Linked DNA regions of Homo sapiens: region 2 is linked to region 1. The links are contacts of gene promoters, found by promoter capture Hi-C in blood cells and fetal thymus (Javierre and others, 2016). All regions are on one chromosome and are shown on one strand. Each heading gives the region's core, a stretch centred on a gene start or on the middle of the fragment in contact. The rest is flanking DNA. Distances are from core to core; before and after follow the strand shown.

What was found. Contacts are between HindIII fragments. The CHiCAGO score rates a contact against its expected background, and 5 or more counts as called.
Region 2: a fragment that was not itself captured here is called in contact with the fragment with the promoter of MAP2K4 in region 1 in 2 of 17 cell types (activated CD4 T cells and neutrophils); the score reaches 6.2 in activated CD4 T cells.

The regions. Positions count from the first base shown.
Region 1 is chr17:12,018,224-12,025,633 of GRCh38, forward strand. MAP2K4 (mitogen-activated protein kinase kinase 4) reads left to right here and starts at 2,654. Exons shown (of 11, transcript NM_003010.4): 1 at 2,654-2,778. The coding sequence starts at 2,664. It also overlaps a transcript of ZNF18 not described here. RefSeq lists an enhancer at 2,454-2,954 and a silencer at 2,491-3,370. The HindIII fragment of the contact is 6,257 bases long and covers 1-4,309 here.
Region 2 is chr17:12,128,871-12,136,280 of GRCh38, forward strand. It overlaps MAP2K4 (mitogen-activated protein kinase kinase 4), which reads left to right. Exons shown (of 11, transcript NM_003010.4): 9 at 269-417. Among named protein-coding and RNA genes, the nearest start is that of MIR744, 51 kb to the left of the region's middle. The HindIII fragment of the contact is 1,152 bases long and covers 3,977-5,128 here.

The DNA.
Region 1 (7,410 bases), core at 1,404-3,903:
ATGCCAGCTACCACCATTATTACTAAAAAGGTTAACTTTTTTTAAGCAATTCATTTTTCTGAACTGTGTATTAGTTTGCTAAGGGATGTCATAGCAAAAGAACCAATAAACAACATAAATGTATTTTCTCACAGTTATGGAGGCTGGAAGTCCAAGGTGTAGGCAGAGTTGGTGTCTTTTGAGGACACACTCTGTGGCTTGTAGATGATCATCTTCTCCTAGCTCTGTGTGTCTGCATCCTAATCTCTTTATAAAGACACCAGTCCTATTGGATTAGGGCCCACTCGTATGACCTCATTTTACTTTAAAGACCCTATTTCCAAATATAGTCCCATTCTGAGATGCTGGGGGTTAGGACTCCAACATGTAAATTTGGTGAGGGAGCAGAATACAATTTAGTCCATAAGAAATCATAAAACACAAATATGTAAGAGAAATGTGAGCATAAGAAAAAGTTAAAAAGCTCATACATAGCTTCCTCAGTTGGAACAAATCAAAGTGCTTTCTTGTTTTTGCCATATGCACATCTAATTATTGGCTCTTACTAGTTTACAATACCAACAGCAATGCAAGTATATGTCAGTTTTATCACAAACTCAGAATTAGGTATTCTTAAAAATAAGATTAGTTATATTTTTATTGTATTTCTCTTTTAATTCAGTTTCCCAATTTCCCTTAATGAATTTGCTAGGTTGAAGGTTTTCCTATATATATATAAATATAACTATATATATACATATTTTTTTTAATAGATGGAGTCTTGCTCTGTCACCCAGGCTGGAGTGCAGTGGCACAATCTCGGCTCACTGCAACCTCTGCCTCCCAGGTTCAAGCGATTCTCCTGCCTCAGCCTCCCTAGTAGCTGGGATTATAGGTACCTGCCACCACACCGGCTAATTTTTGTTTTTTTCTGTATTTTTAGTAGAGACAGGGTTTCACCACGTTGGCCAGGCTGGTCACTAACTCCTGACCTCACGTAATCCACCCGCCTTGGCCTCCCAAAGTGCTGGGATTACAGGTGTGAGCCAACATCCCCAGCCTTCTTTAATATATGTTATTTATAATATTGGATGTGTGTGTGTGTGTGTGTGTGTGTGTGTGTGTGTGTGTGTGTTTAAATTAATTTTCTAGTAGTTGCCTAATCTGTAGTGCTGCTTCTAGGATTTCTATTAAAAGAATATATATTAAATTCTTATTAAAGGCCAGTTATGATGGCTCATAATTAAGATGCCCTAGGAGCAACAAGAGCTGGGTGGGCTACTGATTTCCAGATGGGAATCTGGCCATGTTTATAAGACCTGGACTTGAAGATATTGGGCAGCCAACGAGGCCCATGGAGGAGAATTCTGGCGGGCTCTCCACTGAAGTACACCTACCTGCTCTCACCTTCAATTTGCCTTTAATGCCTCTCCACTTGATGTTTACGGCTAGCCACTTTTAGGATCTGAGCCATCAAGATGATGGATGAAATTGGGTTTGGAACAAGAAGGCAGGGCTATTTTGACCCAGGACACATTTCCAACATGCTGTGAAGAACTCTCAGCATCAAATAACATCTGGGTGGAAGAAGTTTTGGGAAAGAAGTCTAGCTGTAGATCACACAATGCTTCTAAATGGGAGAAAATGTCCAGCTCCATGGCTTAGATTCTTTGGGAAGTAGGATAACTGGCTATTCCATTTTAGGCAAGGCTGCCTGGCCAGAAACCCATGTCTTACCATTTCGAGTACATTATGGTTGGCTTACAAATCGTAGCCTCATAGAGAACTTTTTCTTCTTTTAGCTACTGTCTTCCTAAAATAAAAGTCTCTGTGCAAAGCAATGGAAGAAACCTCATATTGTTTTTTGGGGTTGTCATTTTATGTAACTTACAATAATGACTACGGCTCGTCTTATACAAGATGTAAAGGATTTGGGAGAGGGAATCCAGTGTGCATTTAGGGGAAGATGGTGATGTAGATAGCATATTTCAGGAGGCTGGGAAGTGTCGAGTGCTTAAATATATGCTTCTCAAATTTAATGGGCATACAAATTACCTGGTGGTATTATTAAAATGTAACCTCTAATTCAGTAGTTTTGGGATGGGTCCATGGACAGCACTTTGGTTAGTTCCCCTTGGGACTCCCCTTTCCCCTCAGAGAAGTGTAGAGGGTTGGGGTATTGGGCTTAAGAGGAGTTCCAGACTGTAACCATAGCTCTAGGTAACTCCCTTCTGGAAGTGATGTGTTAGCGACTGGAGGAGAAAGGGATCCCTGGGATCCTTTTCAGCTTTACTATTCTGATTTGGGGTTCTGAGATTCCAACAAAGTGGACTTTTGGGAGTCACAGACCTCCATGGGAATGATGAAAGCTGCGTACCTTCTTTCCGCACAAATGCAGGCCCACCTTTAATTCTGCAAACCACTTTAGGCCCCGCGGGCCCGCAGCCCTGGTCCAAGACAGCTGTCTGCTTCACAGGTCGCGCACCCAGAGCCGGGCGGTTCTGCAGCTCAGCATCTGGCCCGGGCTGCGCGTCGGGCTCTGGCGGGGGCGTGTCAGGAGGCGTGTCCGGGGCGTGTCGGAGGCGGGGCCAAGGCGGGGGTAAGCCTCGCCCCTCGGCCGTGCGAGAGGCCGAGCTTGCTGCATTGCAGCCGCCGCGGCGCCGCTCGGCTCTTCACTCCCAACAATGGCGGCTCCGAGCCCGAGCGGCGGCGGCGGCTCCGGGGGCGGCAGCGGCAGCGGCACCCCCGGCCCCGTAGGGTCCCCGGCGCCAGGCCACCCGGCCGTCAGCAGCATGCAGGGTAAGGAACGCGGCCGCGCCGAGATCCCAGCCCCCTAGCGCGGCAACCCGCGTCGTCGCGGCCTGCCCCAGCGGACGCCCCCGGACCCGGCTGAGGAAGCCACGGCAGCCGCCGGCTTCTCCCTCTCTCCCTCCCCGGCTTCCCGCCCCGCTCCCGGCCGCCTCCGGCCCGGCTTGGATCCGGGCTCCGGCCCGCATAGGCCCCGGCCGCGGCCTCTGCCTGCGCTTGGCCCCTGGGCCCTACCGGGCTCTCAGCAGGCCCGCAGGGCCCACCTGGTCCGGGACCGCCCCCGCGGCCGTCCCCATCGCCCCCGCCGCTTACCTGGCGCCCGCCCGGCCCCCGTTTCCGGGAACGCGCCGGCTCGGGGCTGCGGCGGAGCGGGAGGGGCGTCGGGCCTGCCCCCTGGTCCCTGACGCCGCTCAGGTAGGCGGCGAAGACAGCGGCCCCGGCCGGCGCCCCTCGGCCCCGCCGCCGCAGTGGGCCCCGCTCAGGGCCATCTTGGCTGTCGCCGGGCACAGCTGGAGCCGGACCACCGAGCTGACCTCGGGCTACGGGGGCCTCTTGGAACCTGCGTTTTCAAACTTTTGCAGGGTTTCTGTGCGCTGGAAGGGATGGGGGTGGGGGGCGGGTTGCCCAGGCCTGTGCCACCTGTAAGGTAGGTAGGCTGCATTGGCCTGGGAGAGGCATTTTGTTCCAGGCCAGGGATTTCTGTGTTAGCATTGCGTGCAGGAAGAAAAAAAAAAAAAAAAAAAAAGAAGACTTAATTTGGTTTAAATGGAGAGATACAGGAAATAGACAGGGGTCAAAGTGATACTGTAGTGTCTGGACATTTGAGGCAGCTCTGCTAATTAATGACTTTCCCCACTGGGAATGCTTATTAGCTGTGTATGGCTTTTGACAGGGGGTGTTGTGAAAATACCAGGCCAGGCCCGAGCCTGTTAGGGACCATTTCCTTAAATTTACTGGGGAATTTTGAGTAGTAATGCTATTTTTAAAACAGGGAATCTCAGAACTCTCTTGACAACTTTAGCAAACTGCTTGTGTTGAATTATTAACAGAATAAGGGTTGGGGTACCCTTGGTAGTCAGTGTGACCATGGTTACTTTTTGATTCCATTCCTCTTAAAGGGCTTCTAGCATTTAGTTAGGTTCAACAGACATTTATTGAATAGTTCATGTTTATAGAGCATGCCATAATTCAGAAAGAAGAGACAGGATTTTATTTATCTTTACATCCCTGTCACCCTCCCCATGAAATAATTTTAATATACATAAAAACCAGTGATAGATATATAGACAGGATGATGTCAGAGCTTAGAGGACACTTTCTGTGCAGGCCCTCAGATAATTCATTCAAATTGAATTAGTTATTGGATGCCCACTGTGTTGCACAGCACATTATACTGATGAAGTATAAGATTGACTTCCTGACTGTACAGCTTTACAATTTAGGTGGTGGTGGTTGGGGCGAAATGAAATGGCAAAATGACAATTTAGGATTGTATTTCTTGTTCCAGATGGGTGACTTACAAAGCTTATAAAAACAAGGTGATTTGTTTGTTTGTTTTATTGGTGGGGAGGCTGACAGTTTGAAATAGCTGGATACAGTGTGTTTTTTTGGTTCAAAAAATATTTATTGAGCATCTGCATAAAACGCTCATGCTGAGTTTATAGAGAATTGAACATCTCTAACTGTCCTCATGGAGGTTATCCCCCTGTGAAGATGGGGGAGGGAAGGCTATTTAGCTAAACATGAAAAATTACTAGTTGGAAAAGTAATAAAGGTAACAAGCTGGGTTTTGTGATAGAAGATAATAGAGGGCAGTCCGCTTGATAAGATGGTCAGAGAAGGCTTGTCTGGAAAGCTAACCCTCTTTTACCTGAAGACGGTTCTAGGCAGAGGAACTGTGTGTATGAAGGTTCCAAAGCAGGGAAGAGCTTGGAGTGTTCTAGGAACTCCTAAGGCAGTGGTTAGGACTTTTTCTGATGCTGTCCGTTCTCCTCAGCCCTTGTATGTTGATACCCAGTTAACTAAACTTTCTAATAAGCAGAACCCATTTTAGAAGGAAAAAGGACCTAAGACCTCTCTATGAATTATTGCCGAATTTTCTTTTTTATCAATATTGTGTCTAGTCTTGATTGATTCAGGAATGTGTTATATCTTGTTCTTGAAACTTTTTTCATTAGTCAGAATGAAGTGCTTGATATTCTCAGGATGTTGTCTAGAACAGTCTGTTATAAAGCTTGAACTTAAGCAGCAATTTAGGATCCTTCTTTTTGGTTTGTTTTGTTCTGTATCTTAATTGTGAGGCCCTTGAAGAGGAAATCTTATAAGAACCCAAAAAGAAAGATTCCCATCCAATTGTATGGGAGTCACACCTCCCATACTGTACTTCATCTGCCAAGGGTCTTCTTTTGCTTTAGATCAGACTTCACAGAGTGGGCCTTAGAAGATGTTTGATGTACTTCCATTCCTTCTCCCCCAATCTAATTATACTTGCCACTCAAAAAACTTCCTTTCTGGGAGTTGTTAATGACCATGCTCTCTGAAACAGCAGGATTCAGTTGTGGAACATAAGGAATGTTTCATGCAGTAGACATTGGACATCCTCTTATGTGGTAAGCACTGTGGTGGGCACTGGATAACCTTGAATACTTTTTCATGGCTTCATGTTTATGGCCCAAGAGTGGTCCAGGCTGGCCAATATTGCTTTCTTAATATACTGCTTAAGAACCAGAGCTCTGGAGTTCTGGGTTTGAATCTCTTGGCCAGGATTCAGATATGCGTTTTGTGACCAGGGGCAATGAACTTGGCCTTTCGAAGCCTCAGTTTCTCACTTGGAAAGTGGGAATAACGCTTACCTCCCCGGTGGCTTTGAGAATGCATGTAAGCCTGGGACCTGACATGTAGTAAGGATGCAATACACATTAGCCATCATTGTTAGTAGCGACAATATTGTTATGGTCTCATTAATGGTCCCTTTTACTATTGGTAAATGAGTCCCTAACCTCTCATTATTTACCACACAATTTCTTTAGTTCATATTACTAGGTCCCACTGTTCTCTCTAACCTGTTGATTTCCCCACTTTTCATTATTGAGCAGTCCTTTCAGAGTATCCTAGATGAGATTTTATTCTACTTCAAACTCCGGATCTGTTTTTTTCTGGATCTGAGGACTCTCAAATGAATTACAATGTGAACGATATGAAACAGAAGTCTAGCTATCAATTTGCTCTACTCATTTTTTTCATAGGGGATGGGTAGATGGTTGGAATGGGATTTATAGTGAATTTGATTATAAGAGTAATCAACAGACGTAGCTTTGGTTGCATGTTTATGCTAACAGTTATGGCTTCTAATCTGGCCATTTTTGCCACTGTCCCTCAGATAATAGGGAATAGCTGCTAATTTTGTTATTACTCAAAAGATTTGAGTGTCTTCACTCATTCTGACTCATTTTTTTTTCATGTTCATTCACAAACACACCCAACCTTTATACGTTGAGTAGTTCTTAGGCTTTGGTTCTTTGATGACTAAAGCTAACAAAATGTAGATCTGTTTGCCAAGTTAGGTAAGTGGTTTTATGAAAGTATATTTGGCATTAGGATGAGTTTGCATTTGAGAGAGGAAACAATACTCAAATTAACTACTCTGAGAAATGTTTTTATTCTTAATGTTTCATCAATAATTTGTTAATGTAGATAGATTTAATAGGAAAATTTCTTGCATATTAGGGCCTCATTCTGTGGAAAAGTATTATTCTTTAGTCCAAGAAATTTTAGCCAACCTAAAGTACGGAATTGACTTGTAGCATTCAAGAACCTTCCTAGCCATGGCTAGGGCTTTCCCTTGTGGCAAATCTAAAGCCTCGTGACTTTAGCTGGGTTAGTGTGAATCCTGTAAAGAGAAGATCCCGTTATACCAGGTAATTAATCTTAGATATGTATAGCAAATAGTACTAGATAGTATGGTTGGCATGTTAGAGAATAGCATATTCTGATTAATAGAGCTTGCCAGTTGAGAATTCAACAGCTTCTATAATGAAATTGCATAGGCAGGATGATTCCTTTTCCAGTAGTAGCTGTAGCAGCTAGCGTTCCCATAGCATGTAGTAATGTTTAAGAAACAAAAGGATGTTGAAGTGTAAAGAGCACTGGACTTAGACTCAGAAAACCATGGTTAAGGTAACTGCTCTGCTGTTTACAAACACTGAGATTTTAGGGAAATTCCCTAACTTTTCTCAACTCTCTGTTCAGAAATTTCTCATCTGTTAAAATAGGGATAATGCCTAACCTGTAGGGCCATTGTAAGAATCACATTCTTAATGCATGTGAAAGTGCTTTGAAAATTATAGAATATCTATAAGTATATACAGATTGTTATTAGACATGATTATTTGCCTGCTGTAGCTACTAATCACTTAAAATGTAATAGATTTCAAAGATCGCTTAGCTGAGAAATGTCAGTTTTCAATAGATGTTTTCTTAAAATGGTTAGAATAGAATCTATAATTGATTCAGAAAAACATTGAGCCATTTGTAAAATACTTGTTACAAGAAATAGTTAGAAAGTATATGTTGTAGGTGCCTCTGATTCTCTTAAAGTTCTGATTTACAGAAAACTTTGTGACC
Region 2 (7,410 bases), core at 3,303-5,802, 110 kb after region 1:
GGACATTGTCTAGGCTTAAGTTTTGTGTTCCCATGTATTCCAAGTCCTTGAATTTGGTTGATTCAGAATTCTCTATATTATTTTGATTTCTAAATATAACTTCTACTTAGCCTTTATGATTCTGAAGATTCCTCCCCAAGCTAACCTGTGTTTAATTCAAGGCTTTACTAGAGTTTTGCTTGTAGTTTAGATTTTTTTGTGGCCCTTCCAGTGGGGAGTAGTAAATGATGCCTGGTGTATTTTGCTCTTTCCTCTTTGTTCTCTTTAGTATGAGTTGGCCACAGGCCGATTTCCTTATCCAAAGTGGAATAGTGTATTTGATCAACTAACACAAGTCGTGAAAGGAGATCCTCCGCAGCTGAGTAATTCTGAGGAAAGGGAATTCTCCCCGAGTTTCATCAACTTTGTCAACTTGTGGTGAGTACCTGATTTATGAATGGTCGAACACGCATGGCGAGAATAGTGAGATTTACTTGGTCTTAGCAGCATTGGTACTTTACATGGAGGAAGGGGACCCTTGGTCACATCACCCTACTTTTCAAGCTGGGACTCTGGATCACTGTGGCTGTATGGAAGGTTACAGCTAGCTGGGAGAGGCATCACCTTCTTATTCTGCTACTCAGGTATTGGTGAAAAACAGCCATGAGTGGTGGAGAGGCTGCTGTCTCCAGACTTCCAGTACCTGGTACAAGAAATACCAGGTTAAACTTCTAGGTGAGACTGATCATCTTACTCTAATGTGGTTCTCACAATGCAATTGCACCAAAATCACCTGGAAGCATTTACTGAATCAAGAGCTTGCCAGATCAGACTTTCAGGGTTGGATCTCTGTTCTGACATAACATAGAAAACAGTTGGTTATATGTAGTAGGGTCACATCCACACGCAAAGTGTAGTTGGTAGAACTGTATATCTTTGCTCTCTGAAACCTTACTCCAAGGAAGATGTGAACCCCACACCTGTTGTTGTTTGTCTACCTTTTTAATAGTTTGTTGTGTGTTTGTGTATATGTAGCACCTAAGAATAAACATATGCAGATATGGCAGTAATATAATCATGCTTTATACTGTTTTAGGCTCTTTTAAATAAAATCTTTTTGTGTTATCATTTGGATATTTTTGACATTTATTTTGTTTATCCAACATGATTTAAATATAAGACATGCTATGAACAAAAAGCCTCAGAGCATTTTGTGTATCTTCTGTTTATTCCTGAAAATACCTTTTGGTTTCTCATAATTTTTTCCTGCTAAGAATGCGGTTTCTCCTCATTTTAGGTCTTATAGACTTAAATCAGGGTCTAACATTGCCCTCCTTTGTATGAAAAATTTAAAAATATTTGTTTGACTATAGTTTTTAAGTCTCTTTCATCTTCTGTAACCAAATTCTACTTTTGTGTTGGTTTTTCAGAGGGGAGAGGAATACTTCAAGATTTTCTAGGTAGAAGAAGGACATAAGGATGACTCAAATTGGCTGCTTCCTCCTTTTAAAAAACAATCAATTCTGTACTAATTTGCACACAGTATGGATAGTTTATATAATTGCATAAATGTGATCATTTTATGTATTTCATTTTTATGACATATTTGCTTAAAATGATCTGTGTAAGTCATAGGGTATAATATCTAAAATGATCACCTGTGAACCTTCCATCAGGGTTTCTTTTTAACTCCTTGATCTCTTTATTGGTTTTGTTCTGTATGTGTTGGTACTTGTACATGTTTATTTCTGTTTCCCTTGATGCCATAATAGAGTGACAGTTTTAGACATTGGAGTCCCATTGTTTTCCCTGAGTAGGTTCATAGTTCCATGTCATTGCAAATCATTAAGGTCTACATTGAAGTGTACTTATGTTCATAATATGCTCATATTAGCTCTCCACATTTGTCCATTCTTTCTGCCACTCTTTGTCTTGGACATTGCCTGTAATCTCTAACCTGGATCATTCAGATTTCTCATAATCCAATATTGATTTTCTTATAATCCAATATTGTCTTGTTCCAAATTATTCCCCTTTTTATTAGAGTTGTATTTTTTATGATGTATATCTGATCATGTTACTTCTCTATCTAAAGTATGCATTCTTAGCAGGGTGATATTGACCCTAAGGAGGCAAAAATTGATTTTGGAGAAATGAAAATCTTAGGTTGTATAATGGTTTTTAGTCCTCCAAAGGGCCATAGAATATAAACAGATATGCACTATATCTATCATATTTAAATTTCATGATGGGGAGGATAAATAATGAAAAAAATACTGAGAGATACTATTCTATAGAGACTTCCTCTTGTCCTTAAAATTAATTAATTTAGGCTTTCAGAACCCATTACGATCTGGACTTAGTTTATTGCTCTGGTCACATTTCTTTTTTTTTTTTTTTTTCTTTCTTGTTTTTTTGGAGATGGAGTCTCAGTTGCCCAGGCTGGAGTGTAATGATGTGGTCGCAGCTCACTGCAACCTCCACCTCCCGGGTTCAAACGATTCTTCTGCCTCAGCCTCCTGAGTACTGCTGGGATTACAGGCACCTGCCACCACACCCAGCTAATTTTTTTTTTTTAAGTAGAGACAGTTTTCACCATGTTGGCCAGGCTGATCTCGAACTTCTGACCTCGTGATCTGCCCGCCTCGACCTCCCAGAGCGCTGGGATTACAGGCATGAGCCACTGCCCCCGGCCCGCTCTAGCCACATTTCTCATGACTTCCCTCTCCTTGAATGGTTTCTGCCAAACTGAATTTCTTCAGTTACATAAATTAAAAGCACATACAGGATAATATGGGAGAATGTTTTCATTACGTTTGGGTAAAGATTTCTGAAACAGAACGTAGAAAGTAGCCAAACCTAAGAGAAAGATTGATTAAAAAAAAATGGATTTCATTAAAATTAAGAACTTCCATTGATTAAAAGACAGCACTGAATGACATGCCAAGCCACACAGTAGAAGGAGATATTTTTCATACTTATATTCGACGAAGGACTTTTACACAGAATATGTAAAGAATACTTAAAAATGTAAAACACTTATGAAAAATAACAACCAAAAATAGCAAAATACTTGAAAGGCACTTTAAAGATGATATTCAAGAGGCCAGTAAACATATTCAATTTACTGCATTCATTCTGCATTATTAGTAATCAGGAGACATGCAGGTCAGAACTACAGTGAAATACCACTATAATTACCAGAATGACCACAGTTTAAAATACTGACAGTACCAAATATTGGTGAGGATCTGAAGCAACTGGAAGTCTCATACATAACTTGTAGGAGTATAAATTAGTACAGTTCCTTTGAAAAACAAGCAGTATCCAGTATAGCTGATCTAATATGGTTGATGTATACACCATGGTTCAGCAATTCAAGTTCTGACTATATACCCAACAAAAGTGTGGACATAAATACACTAAAAGACATATGTAAGAATGTCCGGAAAAGCACATTTATAACCTACAATTAGAAACTCTCTCCACAGTAGAACAGATAATAAATTGTAGCATTATGTATACAGCAGTATATAGCATCAGAGAAGATAGAACCATTGCTTCACTCAGCAACTTCAGTAAATCTCACGAATGATGTTGAGTGAAAGAAGACAGAAAGCAGTATGTATGGTTCTATTTCTATATGAAAGTTAAAAGCAAACAATATAAGGTATTGGAAGTCAGAATATTGTTACTTTTTAGTTCTGCACTTAGGAGTTGTGTTTTCTGTATGTCTGCTTCGATTAAAAGTTTTCCTAAGGAAAAAAAAAAAAGGATAAGACTTAATGGTTCAAAAGGAAGACCTTGCCGACTGAGGTGTCTGAGCGCTCAGCATTGGGAAATGGTCGACTCGTGGGTTGATAAAAAGAATTTACAGACAACAGTATAGGTTTGAAAAAGGAAAGTTTATTAGAAAGAAAGTATGCTGCAGAAGAGTGCAGAAGGGTGCTGAGCGTGCCACAGTGGATTTTTCCTTAGGGGTATTTATGGACCTTAAAGCTTGAGGATAATTTGGACCATATTAGCCATGTAGGTAACAATAAATGATTACATTTGTAGTAATTTTGGTTCCTTAATGTCAGCAAGTGTTGCACAGTGAATTTCGACATGGCATTCTGGAGATGTATAGAAATTCTAGTTACTTACAAAGTTTTTTTGGGGAAAAAATCTGGAACCAATGCCTGCTTTAGATAATAGGGAAGTCTGATTACTTCTTGGGTTTTGTTGTTGTTGTTGTTGTTGTTGTTTTTAATATGGAGCCTTGCTCTGTCGCCCAGGCTGGAGTGTAGTGGCGCGATCTCAGCTCACTGCAACCTCTGCCTCACAGGTTCAAGCGATTCTCCTGCCTCAGCCTCCTAAGTAGCTGGGACTACAGGCTCATGCCACCATGCCTGGCTAATTTATGTATGTTTAATAGAGATGGGGTTTCACCACACTGGCCAGGCTGGTCTTGAACTGCTGACCTCAAGTAATCCGCCCGCTTCAGCCTCCCAGAGTGCTGGGATTACAGGCGTGAGCCACTGCGCCAGGCTGGGAAGTTTAATTACTTCTGATTTTCCCCAGATAAGGAATTTTGCTTCTAGATTGCCTGTTGGATAGTCATCGGGTGGTTTTTGCTCCTTCTGCATTCCTCAGATAAGGAATTTTTGTCTCTAGGGCCTGTTCAGTGGTCACCAAGTGATTTTGCTCTCCTCAGATCTCAGCCCATATTTTAAACTGTTTCCCAATTTAACTATCTATTGAAATCACCATTGGAATTTTTTTTAGGGGAAAAATTCTTTATTTGTCCTGGGGGAAGAAAAAACAAAAAATGTTATTCTTGAGGAATTTTTGTGAAACTCTGGATGGGGATAAGACTGAATTCAGGGATGGATTGCCTAATCCAAAATTTATCGTGTGCAGAGGGGAATATAAAAAGTCACTAGGACGATATAAGACCCATATACAACTCTGTAGCTTGGGCAGCAGACCTGGAAGAAGAGGCAACTTGTGGGACTGCCTAATTGTGCAACTAATTAGGCAGTAAAGCTCGATCCTGAAATGTCTTGAGGAAATGCCTTCTGTGCTAGATCTCACAGGCAGCTGGGACAGTGTAGTAGTATCTACTCCTGCCTTTCTCTTAGCAGCAAGACCTGTAAAGAAAAGCTCAAGCTTTGCTGAAATAACTTCTAACAACAACGCCTGTGTTGGTTAGAGGGCGGGAGCACAGTGCATGCTGTTAGAGCAAATGCAAAAATTAAATCCCTATAGTAGGTGATGATGCTGCAGTGATGGCTCTCCACCTAGGTGATGATACTGCAATGATGGCTCTCCACCTAGGTGATGATACTGCAATGATGGCTCTCCACCTGTTTCTCACAGTTAACCTGAATCCATAGCTGAGATTAACTGTGATAAAGAAAAATCACTAACAGATGAAAACTTTCAGTGATTCGGAGAATTGTACCTAAGAAATCTAAACAAATATTTCCTTTAAAATGTCACAGAAAAAAAAACAAGGTAAAAAATTGTAAGGAGGGAATAATTTGAATTCCAGAAACGTTATCTTCAGATAGTAAACATGATTCCTGAACTGAATGGGGGAAAATGGTGGCACACAGCAGATTGAGTATTGCAGGTTAACCAGATCTGTAAGTAACACCGTTTAGTTAATCTTTAAGAATAAAGGGCTAAAAAGATGAACATGAGGTAAATGGTAAGAGAGAAGAAAAATCCAAAATATTCTATTTAGCTGATTGTAGACAAAGAATTAAAATTAAAATTCCTTCTACTTGAAGAATAACTCAAGTTCTTAGATTAAAATACCAGACCAAATTAAACAAGAGAGTAGAGGGAAGCCACATCTAGATGTGTTCTGAGAAAAGATAAGACTTGACAAGTTTTCAATTAAAACACATGCACACAAATGTACACAAAACACCAAGTCAGCAATACCTGAAGAGCAGAGAAACAGCTATAACAGGAGGAATGTGGTTACTTCACATTACTTTGGTGCATTAGATATCTTGGACAACACTTGCACTGAAACTACTAAAATGCTGGATAAGCTTTTTATTTTATTTATTTTGAGATAGGGTCTCACTCACTCTGTCACCCAGACTGGAGTGCAGTGGCATGATTGCAGCTTACTGCAACCTCAACTTCCCAGGCTCAAGCGATCCTCCCATCTCAGCCCCCCGAGTAGCTGGGACTACAGGAATGTGCCACTACACCTGGCTAATTTTTGTTTTTTTGTTGTTTTTTGCTTTTTTGTTTTGAGACGGACTTTTGCTCTTGTTGCCCAGGCTGGAGTGCAATGGCATGATCTCGGCTCACCGCAGCCTCAACCTCCCGGTTTCAAGTGATTCTCCTGCCTCAGCCTCCAGAGTAGCTGGATTACAGGCATGCACCACCACACCTGGCTAATTTTGTATTTTTAGTAGAGTTGGGGTTTCTCCATGTTGGTCAGGTTGGTCAGCTCTTGACCTCAGGTGATCCGCCTGCCTCGGCCTCCCAAAGTGTTGGGATTACAGGCGCGAGCCACTGCGCCTGGCCCACCTGGCTAATTTCTTAAAAAAATTTTTGTAGAGACTGGATTTCACTGTATTACCCTGGTTGGTCTTAAACTCCTAGGCTTAAGCGATCCTCCTGCCTCGGCTTCCCGGAGTATTGGGATTACAGTGGCGTGAGCCACTGTACCTGGCCTGGATAAGCATTTTAAAGTGCCATTTATTTATTTAGGACAGAGTCTGGCTCTGTCGCACAGGCTGGAGTGCAGTGGCATGATCTTGGCTCACTGCAGCCTCCACCTCCCAGGTTCAAGTGATTCTCCTGTCTCAGCCTCCTGAGTAGCTGGGACTACAGGCACGCACCACCACTCCCAGCTAATTTTTGTATTTTTAGTACAGACAGGGTTTTGCCACGTTGGCCAGGCTAGTCTCGAACTCCTGACCTCAGGTGATCCGCCTGCCTCAGCCTCCCAAAGTTCTGGCATTACAGGGGTGAACCATCGTGCCCCACCTAAAGTCCCTCTTAAAATGTAAAAGAGTTGGTGCAAAACTGAGGAATCCATGGAGCTCTGAAGTTGACTGAAATTCAGGGAGGGAGATTATGGGAGAGAAGGAAGAGTCAAAGTAAATTAAAGGATAACCCAAGCAAATGTAGATTTGCCATCTAAATTCATATTGAATATGGTAAAAATACTTAGAGAATTTAATTTTAAGAAAAATTACTTTTCAGAGTCCCTGGTTGGAAAGATATGCTCCTCTTGCCCCCAGTTGATGGGCAGAAGCAAAAGCAAATCATTCAGCCTAGGACTAAATGATTCCAAAAAATAAAGTCAAGTGGAATATGTAGTCCACAAAAAAATCTCAACACTCACAAAAGAAATGAGAATCAGAAACAATGGATAGTAGGAATAGATCTGCAAAGGCTTCAAATATTGGAATGAAA